Regions from separate parts of the Homo sapiens genome. Here regions 1, 2, 3 and 5 are each linked to region 4. Evidence: promoter capture Hi-C in 16 types of primary human blood cells and fetal thymus (Javierre and others, 2016). All regions are on one chromosome and are shown on one strand. The core of a region is centred on a gene start or on the middle of the fragment in contact, and the rest is flanking DNA. Distances in the headings are between cores, read along the strand shown. Region 1 overlaps LINC02943 (long intergenic non-protein coding RNA 2943). Region 2 overlaps LOC105372802 (a long non-coding RNA gene). Region 3 has its middle 15 kb from the start of LINC02943. Region 4 holds the start of ETS2 (ETS proto-oncogene 2, transcription factor). Region 5 has its middle 34 kb from the start of LINC02943.

The links. Contacts are between HindIII fragments. The CHiCAGO score rates a contact against its expected background, and 5 or more counts as called.
Region 1: a contact is called between a fragment that was not itself captured here and the fragment with the promoter of ETS2 in region 4, in 7 of 17 cell types (M1 macrophages, M0 macrophages, M2 macrophages and 4 more). The highest score is 16.2, in M1 macrophages.
Region 2: a contact is called between a fragment that was not itself captured here and the fragment with the promoter of ETS2 in region 4, in 5 of 17 cell types (megakaryocytes, endothelial precursors, M1 macrophages and 2 more). The highest score is 11.4, in megakaryocytes.
Region 3: a contact is called between a fragment that was not itself captured here and the fragment with the promoter of ETS2 in region 4, in 10 of 17 cell types (M1 macrophages, monocytes, M0 macrophages and 7 more). The highest score is 31.0, in M1 macrophages.
Region 5: a fragment that was not itself captured here is called in contact with the fragment with the promoter of ETS2 in region 4 in 10 of 17 cell types (megakaryocytes, M0 macrophages, M1 macrophages and 7 more); the score reaches 34.1 in megakaryocytes.

Annotation. Positions count from the first base shown.
Region 1 is chr21:39,076,795-39,079,494 of GRCh38, reverse strand. All of the region lies in intron 3 of LINC02943 (long intergenic non-protein coding RNA 2943), which reads left to right. Among named protein-coding and RNA genes, the nearest start is that of LINC02943, 6.4 kb to the left of the region's middle. The HindIII fragment of the contact is 9,621 bases long and covers 1-2,700 here.
Region 2 is chr21:38,510,259-38,512,958 of GRCh38, reverse strand. The region is part of intron 1 of LOC105372802 (a long non-coding RNA gene); the gene reads right to left. It also overlaps a transcript of ERG not described here. Among named protein-coding and RNA genes, the nearest start is that of ERG, 13 kb to the right of the region's middle. The HindIII fragment of the contact is 3,047 bases long and covers 1-2,700 here.
Region 3 is chr21:39,098,238-39,100,937 of GRCh38, reverse strand. No RefSeq gene overlaps it. Among named protein-coding and RNA genes, the nearest start is that of LINC02943, 15 kb to the right of the region's middle. The HindIII fragment of the contact is 7,041 bases long and covers 1-2,700 here.
Region 4 is chr21:38,804,641-38,807,340 of GRCh38, reverse strand. It overlaps ETS2 (ETS proto-oncogene 2, transcription factor), which reads right to left and starts at 1,412. Exons shown (of 10, transcript NM_005239.6): 1 at 1,221-1,412. RefSeq lists silencers at 690-789, 810-909, 1,020-1,309, 1,500-1,569, 1,590-1,919 and enhancers at 2,030-2,189, 2,200-2,259, 2,440-2,579, 2,113-2,613. The HindIII fragment of the contact is 4,522 bases long and covers 241-2,700 here.
Region 5 is chr21:39,117,545-39,120,244 of GRCh38, reverse strand. No RefSeq gene overlaps it. Among named protein-coding and RNA genes, the nearest start is that of LINC02943, 34 kb to the right of the region's middle. The HindIII fragment of the contact is 7,449 bases long and covers 1-2,700 here.

The DNA.
Region 1 (2,700 bases), core at 65-2,564, 270 kb before region 4:
CAACTGACTTACTAATAGCTCGTGGCTCTGTGTGACCACTACAGATGGCGTGTCTCATTCCATCCCACAGCCATCCTATGAAACTGGTACTATTCTAACCGGGTTTTACAGTTGAGGAAACTCAGCCTCCTCTAAGAAATGACATGCACCAGGTCCCTCAGCTAAAGGGGGAAAGAGCGGCCTTCAAACCCAGACCTGCCAGGCCCCAAGACCTGAGTTTTCCGTCTCTGTGCTGTCCTGCCTCTCATTTGCCTCTTCTGGAGACAAGGTTATTTGTTTGTTTTTGTTTTTTGAGAGAGGGTCTCACTGTGTTCTGTTGCCCAGGCTGGAGTGCAGTGGTGCAGTCATGGCTCACTGCAGGCTTGACCTCCTGGGCTCAAGCGATCCTCCCTCCTTAGCCTCCTGAGTAGCTGCTGGTACCACAGGTTCACCCCATCATGTCCAGCTAAGTTTTTAAGTTTTTGTAGAGATGGGATCTCGGTACATTGCCCAGGCTGGTCTTTAACTCCTGGGCTCAAGCAATCTGCCCGTTTTGGCCCCACAAAGTTCTGGGATTATAGGCCTGAGTCACTGTGCCTGGCTGAGACCATAGTTTAAACAAAGAGTTCTGATAATTTTCTTTCCTAATATCCTCTTCTTAATGGGAAGCAGCTCCTTAGAATTCAGCTGTCAACTTTGCCCAAGTTTGGGAACATTTCAAGATGTCTTGGGTGTGAAATTGATTTTGTTCTGCTTTTTAGAAATACCAGGAGTAAGAAAAGTTGCCGTCAGTGTTTCTTTGTTTGTTTGTTTGCTTGCTATTTCCTCATTTCCTCACCTGTTCTCTGTGTACCTGTTTATGGTGGGGGTGCCTGTTGATATTTGACTGGTGGGAGGGAGGTGTGTAAGCATACTGGTGAGGTTTAGGTACTTCTGAGGAGCAAAGAACTGCGCAGCCATGGGGTAGGATGCCCTGTGTAGGTAGTGAGCTCCCCATTACTAGAGGTATCCAAGCCAACTTGCCAAAGAAAACCTCCAGGAATGCATCATTTTAAATACCAAGGATTTAGTATAGTGCCTGCACACAGTAAAGGCTCAGTAAATGCTTGTTGGGTGAATGAGCTTTTGAGCATGAGCGACCCTTTCTCCCCTGATAAATCTCAGAAAGGGTGAATGTTTGAAAGGACACCAAGAGATTGGTCAAGGTACTCATCAAACTTTTATTCTCAAAAACCACCTGAAAGATGGTAGCCTAACTCTTAAACATCAACAGAGAGCACAATGCTGCTCTTCATAGCAGAAGCACATCCCAAGATTTCACATATTTCATAATCAGTTTTAAAGGCAGTTCCTCAACTCTTCTGCCACAGGCTAAGTCCGTCTCCCTTGCTCATCCTCACTGGCAATAGAAAGCTAGGTTGGAGGAGGTGCCTCTCCTGTGAAACGGGGCACTTGGAAGAGGCTGCATCCACTTGGGCTTGTCCTAGAGCTGGGGTTGGCAAACCACGGCCTGAGGGCCAAATCTGGCCCTTTGTCTGTTTTTGTGAATAAATTTTATTGAAGAACAATAAACTTTTTATGGATTGTCTGTGGTTGCTTCATGCTACAAAGGCAGAGTTGAGTAGTTGCATCAGAGACCACCTGGCTTGCAAAGCCTAAAATATTTACTATCTGCTTATTTACAGGAAAAGTTTGCTTTCCTTGACCTCTAAAAAGATTCAGAATAAAGGCTGGAAAAATGAGAGGATATCATGATGAAGATGCAATTCCATTCCTGGGTATATATCCAAGAGAGCTGAAAACAGCACTCAAGAAATAGTTCCACACAAATGTTTGTAGCAGCATTATTCACGATAGCTAAAAAGTGGAAGCAACTCAGATGTCCGTTATTGGAGGCATGGTTAAACAAAATGTAGTCTTTTCATATATTGGACCATTATTCAGCCATAAAAAAGAATGGAGGACTGACACGCGTTACAACCTGGATGAATCTCGAAAATATTATGCTAAGTCGAAGAAGGCAGATACAAAAGGTCACATGTTGTACGATTCCATTTATATAAAATGCCCAGAATAGGGGCATTCAAAGAGACAAAAAGCAGATTAGTGGTTGTCAAGGGTCAGGGTGGGAGATGGGGGAGGGAGAATGGGGAATCGCTGCTTAATGGGTATGAGACTTTCTTTTGGGGTGCTGGAATGTTCTGGAACTAGATGGAGGTGGTGGTTGCACAACATTGTGAATATACTGAATGCCACTGAATTGTTCCTTTTAAAATGATTAATTTTATATTATGTGAATTTCATTTTAATTAAAAAGAATAATGGGGGTGCTAAGTGGTATGATGACATCCCAGAGTGTCACCTACAGCCTGGGAGTCCTTGATGCACCAGCCACTTGTGACCCCCCATCCCCACATTTATGCTGTATCTGTGCATAATGCATTTATGATGGTTCTAAGCCCCTTATGGGAACACTGTGTACATTTCCACCTCAGAGTATATTTCCATGAAGGAGGCAGGCAGAGTCTTATTATCCCTCTTTGGAATTTCTCCATCAGGTATGCCCCATCTGCTGCTGGTAAACTTCCCCATTCCAACCTTCATGGTGCTGGATTCCTGCACCTGCAGTAGTTCTTAGGTAAAAGACTTGTTTGCACAACATGTCTGCATTAGGATGTGCATACATTTCTTGGCAGAGTGGGGTTGGGTGTAAGCAGGCAG
Region 2 (2,700 bases), core at 22-2,521, 290 kb after region 4:
GGGTTTCACCATGTTGCCCAGGGTGGTCTCAATCTCCTGACCTCATGATCCGCCTGCCTCGGCCTCCCAAAGTGCTGGGATTACAGGCGTGAGCCACTGCGCCTGGCCCGTAGGTTTTAATTAATATATTTAAATTTTCTTGGCATTTCAGTATTTCTATATTATAATGTGAATTATTTTAAAATACTTTATCTGATTACAAAGGTAGCACACACTTGTTTTATCCTAAATTTTCTCAACTGTTTGACTTGAAAAGGGGGCAGTTACTCCATGATCCAAACCTCAAAACTGAAATTTGTATTTTAAGATGTTTTCTCTGCATATGCTAATATACATATGTGATAATTTTCTAAAACTTATTATACTTTGAATATTTTCTATGCAGTACATTAATATCTATCTCATTCTTAATACTGTGTAGTATAATTATTCAATATCTGATTGAAAGACGTACAGTGTATTTTCATATTTTACTGTTACTGAGCAGTGTAATAGCAGACATCCTTTGTACTTATAACTGTCTATTGTGAGTATTTCTAAAAAATAGATTTCTAGAATATCAATTGCGGAGACAAAGGATAAATTATTTTATTCCCATTATACACGAATGTCAATGCTTTTTCCTCCACATTCTTGCCAATACTTCAAAATATTACATTTTTTCATTGTTGTTATCTGGCTAGGCCCAAATATTGTGTGGTGGTTTATTTATTTTTATTTTCTTTAATCTGTTTTCACTTTTCTTGGATGGTTTACACTTATGGATAGTAAACTCCTGTGATGGTGACTCGTGGTCATCCAGGTTCTTTTGCATTGTGTGGGTTAGGATGGGCAGGACACACTCTTGTATATGTACCAGCTGTTGGTTTATGTGATTTTTTCAGGTCAATCTATCCCATCTGACAATATACCTTCCATTAGGCTGACAGTCTGTCATGCACACAGTGCACACACACAATTATATTACAAGGCTGATAAAACCGAATTGCTCTGTTCCAGTGGTTCTCAACTGGGACAGTTTTTGGTTGCACCTTTAGGGACAGTTGGCCATGTCTAAAGACAGTTTTGGTTGTCATAATTGGAGTCTGCGAGGTGTTACTGGCATCTAGTGGGTAGAGGCCAGGAATGCTAGCAAACATCCTGCCATGCACAGGGCAGCCCCCACAACAGATAATTAACCAACCCAAAATGTTGATGCTGCCAAGGTTGAGAAACCCTGTGGTCTATTGCTGTGACATTTTAGTGCTTCTGTTGTATCACAAGTGTACCAATTTGTGTTAATTTTAACACATTTATTCTTGCTTAAAAATTGGGATGTATCTTAAAATTGATTGATTAGAAAGTATTACGGTGAATTTTCATTGGCAGAATTGTTTTTTCTTTCCTAGTGATACTTTAAATCATGATGTGCTTTACATCTTACCACCCAAAGTCTTAGATTTGAGGAAATATGATATGATTGTGTCTTATCTTTTATCCCTACATATGTGCAGTCTAATTTCAGTGTAGGAATAGGAAGTCTCGTGTAGCATGACAGTGTAATTGCTGTATTTGTAGGTATTAAACATCAATCAATGCCTAGCTTTGTACCCATAGGCATTCCACTTTGTGCCTGCTCTAAGGCAAAACACAATATTCAATGCTGGAAATAATTTCATATTTAGTTTTATGTTAAAGTAGTTCCTCTTAGATTTAGTAAATAGACAAAATATTGATTGAATGTTCAAATGTAGGGTGGAATGATTGATTTATTCATTTGGGAGGTTGTGAATCATTCCTATATCTATTGATTTTGTTCTTCATTTATATTCATTACCTTTAAATTCAGGAAGGTTATTGAAAATTCAGGGGGAAACATTTGTTAGGTTGCTAACTCCTTCACACTAAACCTTCTATGTTTTCTTACATTTACAAGCAGTCTAATAATCCAGTGAATCCCTTACATACTGAATGTTGGGAAAAGGTCATGACAGGAATATCTAGTTTTCAAATCTTGGTTTGTTAAAGATCAGAAATCTTCCTTCCAGATCTTGGTTTGTTAAAGGTGATGATCACCTAAACTAAAGCATACTCAGATGATGGCTGCTTGATATAATGGAGTGAGCTTTTATTCCTGGCTCTTATAGGAGAAAATCTGTAAGTGGTCAGGGGAAAATCGATTTCAATGTGTACTGTCAATTCCTTTTTTTGCATTTGTAAGTGAGAAAAAAATTAGGTGGTTAAAAGGTGGCAGTTTTGAGTTATTAAGAATGATATGGATTAGCCTCAACTTCCATGGGTCACTACGAGGTAGCCGCTGATACTTCACATCTGGTTTTGGTTTGCAGTAACTGACAAAGAAGCACAAGGTATGTATAGCCCTATTGTTAGTGTCGTTCCACTCTTTTAAAGACAAAAAGCTCCCCACTCCAAAAGTACTGAAATATTTTCAACTCCAATTTACAGATTAGGCAAAACCTCTTGAGTTAAGGGTCACTAAAGGCAGCTGAAAAATTTCTTTGCAAACTTCTCAGTGTTCTGGCTGTTAAAGAAAAATAGTAAAATAAAAAGAGCTCCCCAGTGTAAGAATTCCATGAAACAGAGAGTGACGTGTGAGACGCATTAATGCTTTCCATTCCTGATGAAAAGCTCGAACAGCTTTAAGTAATGTGGAATCCAGTATCTCAAATCCTAGCTCCGTCTGGGAGGTGAGTTTTGGGT
Region 3 (2,700 bases), core at 78-2,577, 290 kb before region 4:
TTTATTGGATGCTCCTTTAATGCAACAACCTTATTTCCTGGTCAGGACTGCTGTTTCCTTGGTCTAGAAAAATCTTCCCAGATATTTATTTGGCTTCCTCCCTCGCTTCATTCAGGTCTCTGCTCAAATTCAGGGTCCTCAGAAAGGTTTCTTTGCTGACCCTCAACCTGCCCAGGACTCTATCTGTCTCCTTTCATGGCATTATTTTTCTTCCCTACCTGATGTGATATTCCAGGTGTATTTATGCAGTGGTCCCCAACCTTCTTGGCACCAGAGGGTGGTTTCATGGAAGACAGTTTTTCCACGGCGTGGGGGATGGTTTTGGGATGATTCAAGTGCATTCCATTTCTTATGCCCTTTATTTCTATTATTATTACATTGTAATATATATAATAAAACAATTATACAACTCACCATAATGTAGAATTAGTGGGATCCCTGAGCTCGTTTTCCTGCAACTAGCTGGTTCCATCTGGGGGTGATGGAGACAGTAACACCTGAAGTGTGGTGCTTATGTCCAGTCTACTTTGTGATCTCGTTTTGGTTGCTGTCACTGCAGAAAACCCTGCTTCACAAAGATAGGATGTTGGAAATGGAAGCAGGCTTTCCAGTGCTTTTCTGGCAACCGCAGGATATTCTGCCTTGACTTTAATCCAGAATGTATGGAGATGGGAAGTTGTCTCAGACCTACCTTTATTGCCACTTGATGCAGCTGTACAACTGAAGCTCACTTGCCACCATGAAGCCTGCAGCTTAATTGTGTCTTGCCACTCACTGAGAGGGTTTTGTTATGAGTCTGAAAGCAGTTGACTTATTATGGTCTCTGTGCAGTCAAACCTCTTGGCTAACAAAAGTCTGTATGTGCAGCTGCTCCCCAGCACTAGCATCACTACCTCAGCTCCATCTCAGATCATCAGGCATTAGATTCTCATAAGGAGCATGCAACTAGATCCCTCGCCTGCACAGTTCACAATGGAGTTTGCGCTCCTATGAGAATCGTGTGCTGCTGATCTGACAGGAGGTGGAGCTTATGCAGTAGTGCTCGCTTACCTGCTGCTCACCTCCTCCTGTGTGGCCCTGTTCCTAACAGGCCACAGACCAGTACCAGGCTGTGGCCCAGTGGGTGGAGACCCCTGTATTTATGTATTATTTGGTCTGTGTCAGTAGCATGTGAGCTCCATGAGGGCAGGGACTTTGTGAAGGCCACTACTGTATTCAGAGCACCTAGCACAGTGCTTGGCAAAGATAAGCCCTCAATAAATCTTGCTGGATGCATTAATGAAGAAAAGAATGAAAGAGGGAAAGCCTGGCCCTTGCTAGGTGCTCTAGGCAGGCAAAAGAATTCTGCATCATCCTGCACACTGAGACAGGGCACTTCCTTCCGATGGATCCACCGAGGGGCGGACGCATCCCCAGGTTACCAAGGAAAGCAGTTCTTTGCAGGTGGTAGAAGACTTGTCACTTCCCCTCCCTATAAAAGCAAAAAAGTGTAATGGCAAATTCTGAGAGCCTCTGAGAAAGTCAGGCAGGTCCCTTTCCAGAAAGCCACCAATTGCTCTGGCTAGGATTACATGTTCTGTGAATTTTGAGTCTAACTTTGAAAAATTTATCATAGCCAATTAATCTGTTTAAGAAGACCTAGTCAATGCAATAGAGACCTTTTTTCCCCTAAGATAATTGAGATGAAACCTAAAAGAGATTAATAAAAAAAATTTAAAGCCCTTTTATTTACTGAGCAGTTAAAGATGAAGCCATCTGTTACCATAATGATAGTCTTTAGGGAAAAGCTGTAAAGACGCCAACAACAAGTAAATATGCCCATAAAATGTCCACCAAGATCCTAAAAAGCTGTTCCTTCATTCCTTTTTTCTCTTTTAGATACCCTTGGGTAACCTAGGAGTAAATGGCTGTTTGCTGGTGTTGTTTGATAAGTTCAGAGGTTAAGTGGCACTCAGGGTTCATGGTGCTAATATCTGATTTGTTAGACGAGAGTTTCCTGGAGACAGAGAGAGGAGGCCTTGGGTGCTGGGGCCAGATTTCCTCTTGGGATGACTTTTGACCCTGTCCTTTTCCTAGGGGTAACTGACACACAAAGCCTTCCTGTGTGGGGCTGGGTCAGTTTACACCAAGCATCATTATGCAGGGGCTGCTGCTGGAAACCCCAAGGACAATTTGGGGCAAATGTGTGCTGCGTTGGCCTCTAATCAGAGACTCTAGTCTCCATCATGTACCAGCATTGACAGACTTCTGAGAACCCAAGGTGGGAACAGTAATGTGAGGATGTTATAACACGGATTGAGAGTTAGGCTTTGTAGAGAAGACGCGCCAAAGAGGGACTTAAAAATTCTACGCCACGCTGTGCCTGTGCTGGCCGCCTGGCTGCCTCTCCCTGAGAAGCTCTCCTTTTCCTCCGCAGGACTTCGGGGAACCTTCAGGCTGTCGCCCTGCCTCTTTTGATGTTTCTCGCAGGTTGCAGATGGAGACAGGTTTTGTACTGAGGATCATTTTCACTTTGCAAATCAGTGTGCAGGAGATGGGACGGGAGCATAATGTCAGAGACACTTTAATTCCTGCACCCCGGCTTAGGTGAATGTGGAAGATCTCCAGACAGTGTTATATTAGATTTTCACCCCAGTTATGCAGGGACCATCCTGGAGTGGTTAGCGCAGACACTGTAATTAGGAGGAAAGATTGCTGGGT
Region 4 (2,700 bases), core at 163-2,662:
TATTGGAACAAGTAATCACTTATGTAAGATTATTTAGATAAATTTGAAAACAAACAAAAAAAAGAAACAACACAACCTTGTAACACACATTTGAAGGTAGTTTGCTTTTTTCGCTTTGAAAGCGATCAGTTTAGAGAGATGAATGACTAATCCCAGAAATGAGTATCTGAGCATTTCCCTGCGGATGGTCGGTGCTAACATTTACTGTGCTGCGCTACTACTCAGAATTTTAATAAAGCTTAACGTGGAGATTTATCTCTCTGATTGGTGGTGGTGTGGGCAGGCAGATAACGCACAGGCGCTTCCATTGTATGGAACAAATATAATCTCTTACTGGCGAATTAAAATAAATTACTCCTGTCTCCAAAGGGGACTGCTCATTTCTTTACTTTCTAAATAACTAGCGCGTCAACTACTGTTTTAGGCTACCCTGAAATTGTGTACAGGCTAACATAAAAGGTCTCCTGCCGTAAAAAATAAAATAGGATAACACACACGCAACCCAAACACACACAAGCAAACACTCAGTTACCTCTTCATTCAAATGCTGTAGGAACGAGAAAATAAAGGCAGCCCAGCGCAACCAGATCTCATTTCCGACAGGTTCCCCACGCTCTCCTCGCACGACCGAGGGGTCCCCAGCCCGGGCCCTGGACGCGGCGAGCAGGTGACCATGGCACCCCGCGCCCCGCAGGTTCCCGCGGTGCCGCAGCCTTCAGGTGTCTTGGGCGCCCCAGATCCTCCGGGCCCGGCGCCGCTCCAGGAAGTCACCCTCAAAGCCGGGGCGCCAGGCCACCTCGGACACGCTCTCCTGTGCCCCCACTCCCGTTCGCGAAATCATGTTCGCCGGGACATCCACTGGGCAGGACCCCCTACCAGGCCTGCGTTTCCTTTTAAAAACAAAAGCGAGCGAAACAAGCCAGCGCGCCCTGGCCGCGCCCGCCGCTAGGCGACCCCGAAGACAGCGGCCCTAGCACGCAGGAACCCCCCGGCCGACCCCGCCAGCCCCGGAGGCCACTCCATAACCGGAAAACGAGCCGGCGCGGAACTCAGACGCGCGCCCCTAGAGTCCTCGCAGCAGCCGCCACCCCCACCTGCACCCCCGGCAGCGCCCCGAGATCTGCGTGTCAGTGCCCCCCGCGACCCCCGCCCAGGCCCCGGGTGACCCTCCATGGGACTGGAGCCGCGCGCCGGGCGCTCTCTGCGGGCCCAGCTCTTACCCTGCCGCTGCGGGCAGGGCCGGCGCTTGGTCGGGACGGTGGCTGCTCGGCGCCCGCGGCTGCTCGGTGCGCGCCGGGCGAGGGCGAGGGCGCCGGCCAGAGACGATCAGGGAGGCCGGACGCTGGCCGGGCGGCTCCGGGAGCTCTGAGCTGGAGCGACACCGCACTCGTCAGTCTCTGGAGGAAGTAACCGGGCCGTCCCCCACGCGGCGCGCTCTTCAGGAGCGGGAGGAGGAGGGAGGAGGGAGGAGGAAGGAGGGACGGCCGAGTGGAGGGGAGGGGAGGAAACGAGGGAGGAGAGAAGAGAGAGGGGAGGGAAGGGGAGGAGAGAGAAGAGGAGGGGAAGGGAGGTAGGCAGGATGGGGAGAAGCGGGAGGAGAGGGAAGGGGGCAGCAGGAGGGTTGGGGGAGCGGAGGGAGAGGAGAGGGAACGCACGAGGGGAGAGAAGAGGAGGGCGGAGGCGGCGAGGGAGCGCGGGGCGGGGCTGACACCTTCCGGCCCAACCTTCCCTCCGCCTCCTGCTGTCACTCGGCTGGGTCCCTCGCCGGCTGGCCCTGAGGCCCCGGGAGCAGGGCCTCGGCCCCACGTGCGCGCGAGTGTGCGCCCTGGGAGCCGGGCGGAGACTTTCCGTGGAGCGCTCGGCGTCCTCTCTGGGGCCAAGGCCCTAACGCCAAACCTGCCTTTGGAATTCCGCAGCGACGGAGCAGTGGTGCTGGTGGCACCGAAGGGCAGCCGGGCTTGGGTAATAAGGCCCTGAAATTGAGCCGACCCCATTCTTGAACCTCTGAATGGGCTTAGGACTAATGATCATTCTATCACAAAAAGGCTCCAAATGAGGCGCTTCCTGTAGAAACCGGGCCCTGGCTGTGTCCCCGAGTCGTGGTGCTGATCGCGCTGCTCCCGGGAAGCCCCGATCCCGCAGGCTCCGCGGGAGTGGCGCCCTCTGGAGCTGAGCGGTGCCCAGATAGCGACCCGCCTTGGCCGCGCTTCAATCTGGGCTGGGCACTCCACGCACATCATCGTCACTCTCGGAGGACTTGCGGCTCCCACTTTACACAGGTGGGAACTGAACCTTAGGATGAATAACCTGCCACGTCAGATTGATGAGAAATTCAAGGTGGAAACCTGAGTTTATCTGACTCCGAAACCCTGGTCAAAACCACCCCCTACACTGTGGTTTCCGTTTTTATCAGAAGGTGCTTGAGTCCATGGCTGTTTGGACTCAGGTCACATGCTCAATATTTTGCAGGAAAGTTTAGATTCCTGAAGTTGTGGATGAAATAGGAAACCCCAGCTTAGGCGAGGCCACGGGGCTGAAAGCTGCTCACATCTCAAGAACTGCGGCACCACCGGGAAGGGAGAGGAATGGCCCAGCTTCTCTGTGACTCAGGGTTCTAGGTTTCCATGGTGACTCTAGGTCTAGAGTTATCCGGATAATTGAGATATCGGTGCACCTTAATGTTTCTGGGTCCCCGAAGGT
Region 5 (2,700 bases), core at 23-2,522, 310 kb before region 4:
GTCTACAAGTTGAGGACAGTGGCAAAACCAGAAGCTACGAGGGGCATAGAATGGAATCTCTCCTAGAGCTTTCCGAGGGAGCGTGGCCCTGCTGGTATCTTGATTTTGCATTCGTAGCCTCCAGAACCATGACAGAATGCATTTTTGCTGTTTTAAGTCACCCATTTGTAGTGCCACATTTTGTTCTGGAAGACCTAGGAGACAAATCCAGCAGGTCACCGACTTTTTCTCCTGGAAGATATAACCTCTCATGTTTTTCTTTGCTCTTCCTTCCTGCTGCCTGGCTGGCGTGGGTTCTGCCTGTCCTGTTCACTGCCCCATGAATCCTGTCAGTCTGAGGATTTATAAATGCATGTGACTTTTTCATTTTAGTTTTGGGAGACTTTCAGTTATTGTTTCTTGAGCAACCTCTCCCCCGTGCCCTTTTTCCGCTTCTCTCTCCCTTTAGGGAGCTGTTGCCGCCCCTCTTGTTCTCTGCCTCACCTGACTGTTCTGCCCTTTCGGCTTCTCCTCCCTTCCTGACCCCGGACCCCCAGTGCACTCTTTTTTTTTTTTTTTTTGAGATGGAGTCTTGGTCTGTCACCCAGGCTGGAGTGCAGTGGCATGATCTCAGCTCGCTGCAACCTCCACCTCCCTGGTTCAAGTGATTCTCCTGCCTCAGCCTCCCGAGTAGCTGGGATTATAGGCGCCCACCACCACGCCCAGCTAATTTTTGTATTTTTAGTAGAGATGGGGTTTCACCATGTTGACCAGGCTGGTCTCAAACTCCTGACCTCAGATGATCCGCCAGCCTCGACCTCCCAAAGTGCTGTGATTACAGGCGTGAGCCACCGCGCCCCACCCCCCAGTGCACTCTTCAATGGGTCTGTCCTGCTTCTTAGCCCATCCCTCCTGTCCTTTATTTCATCAATTCTGTTTCATATCTAGCATCAGCAAGTGTTTCTTCTTTCTGTTTGCTTCTGCTTTGTGTTTCCCAAATCCTCTGTTCTCGCACTGGGGGCGTCGCTCGTGTTCACTATGGATTTTCGCTGCCCTAGCTTGGTTCTGTTTCCTCAGGAAAAGGTGATTCTGTGGCTCTTTCCTCTCACTAGGGACTGTGCTCCTGGTCACCTCCCTGCGGGCTTGACCGTGATTCTGCTGGGATGATTGAGGGGTGTAGCTGGAATTGTCTCCCTGGGTATTGGGTAAAAGACTAGGCCTAATGTGGGGTCCCTCGGGTGAGTTTCAGGAAGACAGCAGGTTCTAGTGTGTACAGGGCCCACAGCCCCTGTCCCTCAATCCCTTTTTGTTCCAGGTACTTCTCTCTGTGGGGAAGCCACCCTCCACCCATTTCCCTGGGTAGGGCCGGGGAGGGCAGCCTTTGCTCAGGGGTCTACCAGGGCCTGGCTCCAGAGCTGCTGGGAGTCACCCTGACTGGCACTGAAGCCGCCTCCCCATGGCGGGGCTGGCCTGGATGCTGGCCGAGGCCCCATCTGTGGGTGTGCACAGAGGTTGTTTCCTCCTCCGCCTTCTCTTTTATGGGGTCCTGAGAACCCTGAGGTCCCTGCCCAGCCTGTGGTCTTTGGCTGAGCAATGCAAATGTAATGGGAACCAGGAGGTGTCTTCCAGGTCCCATCCAGGCCTGGTCTGTCCTGGCTACTCCTAGGGGAGAGAACAGGCCTTTCCAACCCCATCCGAGACCCTGCTGGGACCTCTGCATCCACGCTACCTTCCTTCCCTGCTATGCACACCACCCCCAGCAGAATAGTTTGGATGTCGTCTCCTGTAAATCTCGAGTTGAATTGCAATCCCCACTGTCGGAGGCGGGGCTTGGTGGGAGGTGGTTGGATCATGCGGGCGGATTTCTCATGAGTGGTTTAGTGCCATCTCCTTGGTCTTGTCCTCGTGATAGTGAGTGCTTGGGAGATCTGGTTGTTTAAAAGTGTGCGACACCTCCCCTCCATTCTTTCTCTTGCTCCTGTTCTAGCCATGTGACATGCCTGCCCTTGCTTCGCCTTCTGCCATGAGTAAAAGCTCCCTGAGGCCTCCCCAGAAGCTGAGCAGATGCCCTGCGCCATGCTTGTACAGCCTGCAGAACCGGGAACTAGTTAAACCTGTTCTTTATAAATGATGCAACCTTAGGTATTTCTTTATAGCAATGCAAGAATGGCCCAATACACCCAGTGACGCTCCTGGGTTCCTCAGAGCTATTTTGTCAGCTGATGAAGAGGCTCGTAGGTCCAGCCACTTCTGTGATTGCTTGTTTTATCTCCGTGGATGGGGAGGGGGTCCCTGTCAGGGAGCTGGCAGCCCGTACTTGTTTTCCGTTTTGTGTGGACATCACACAGCTTTTTGAACAAAGCAAGAGTCTCACTCATGGCTTCTTGTGTTCTGAGATGTACTTAAATCCTTAAGCAGCGTCCGTGTGAACATGGGACAGCGAGAAGGCATTTGGACTCCTCTTCTGGGCCTTGTGTATTTTGTGGTGCTGAGGGGAGGGCAGGGCGAAATGGGGATGCTGTCTTTGACATGCTGCACAGGCCATGAGGCTGGCTCAGCCTACACTGTAGCGCAGGGACCAGGGCAGGGGAAGCCCTTTTATCTGTTGCTCCTGACTTGGCGGTTCTGTCCTAACAGCAGCAGGGTGGGGACTGCTGAGGATTCAAGAAAAACCAAAGCTCCAGGAAGGATCTGGGCCGATGTGAGGCCCAGCCAGGGGCT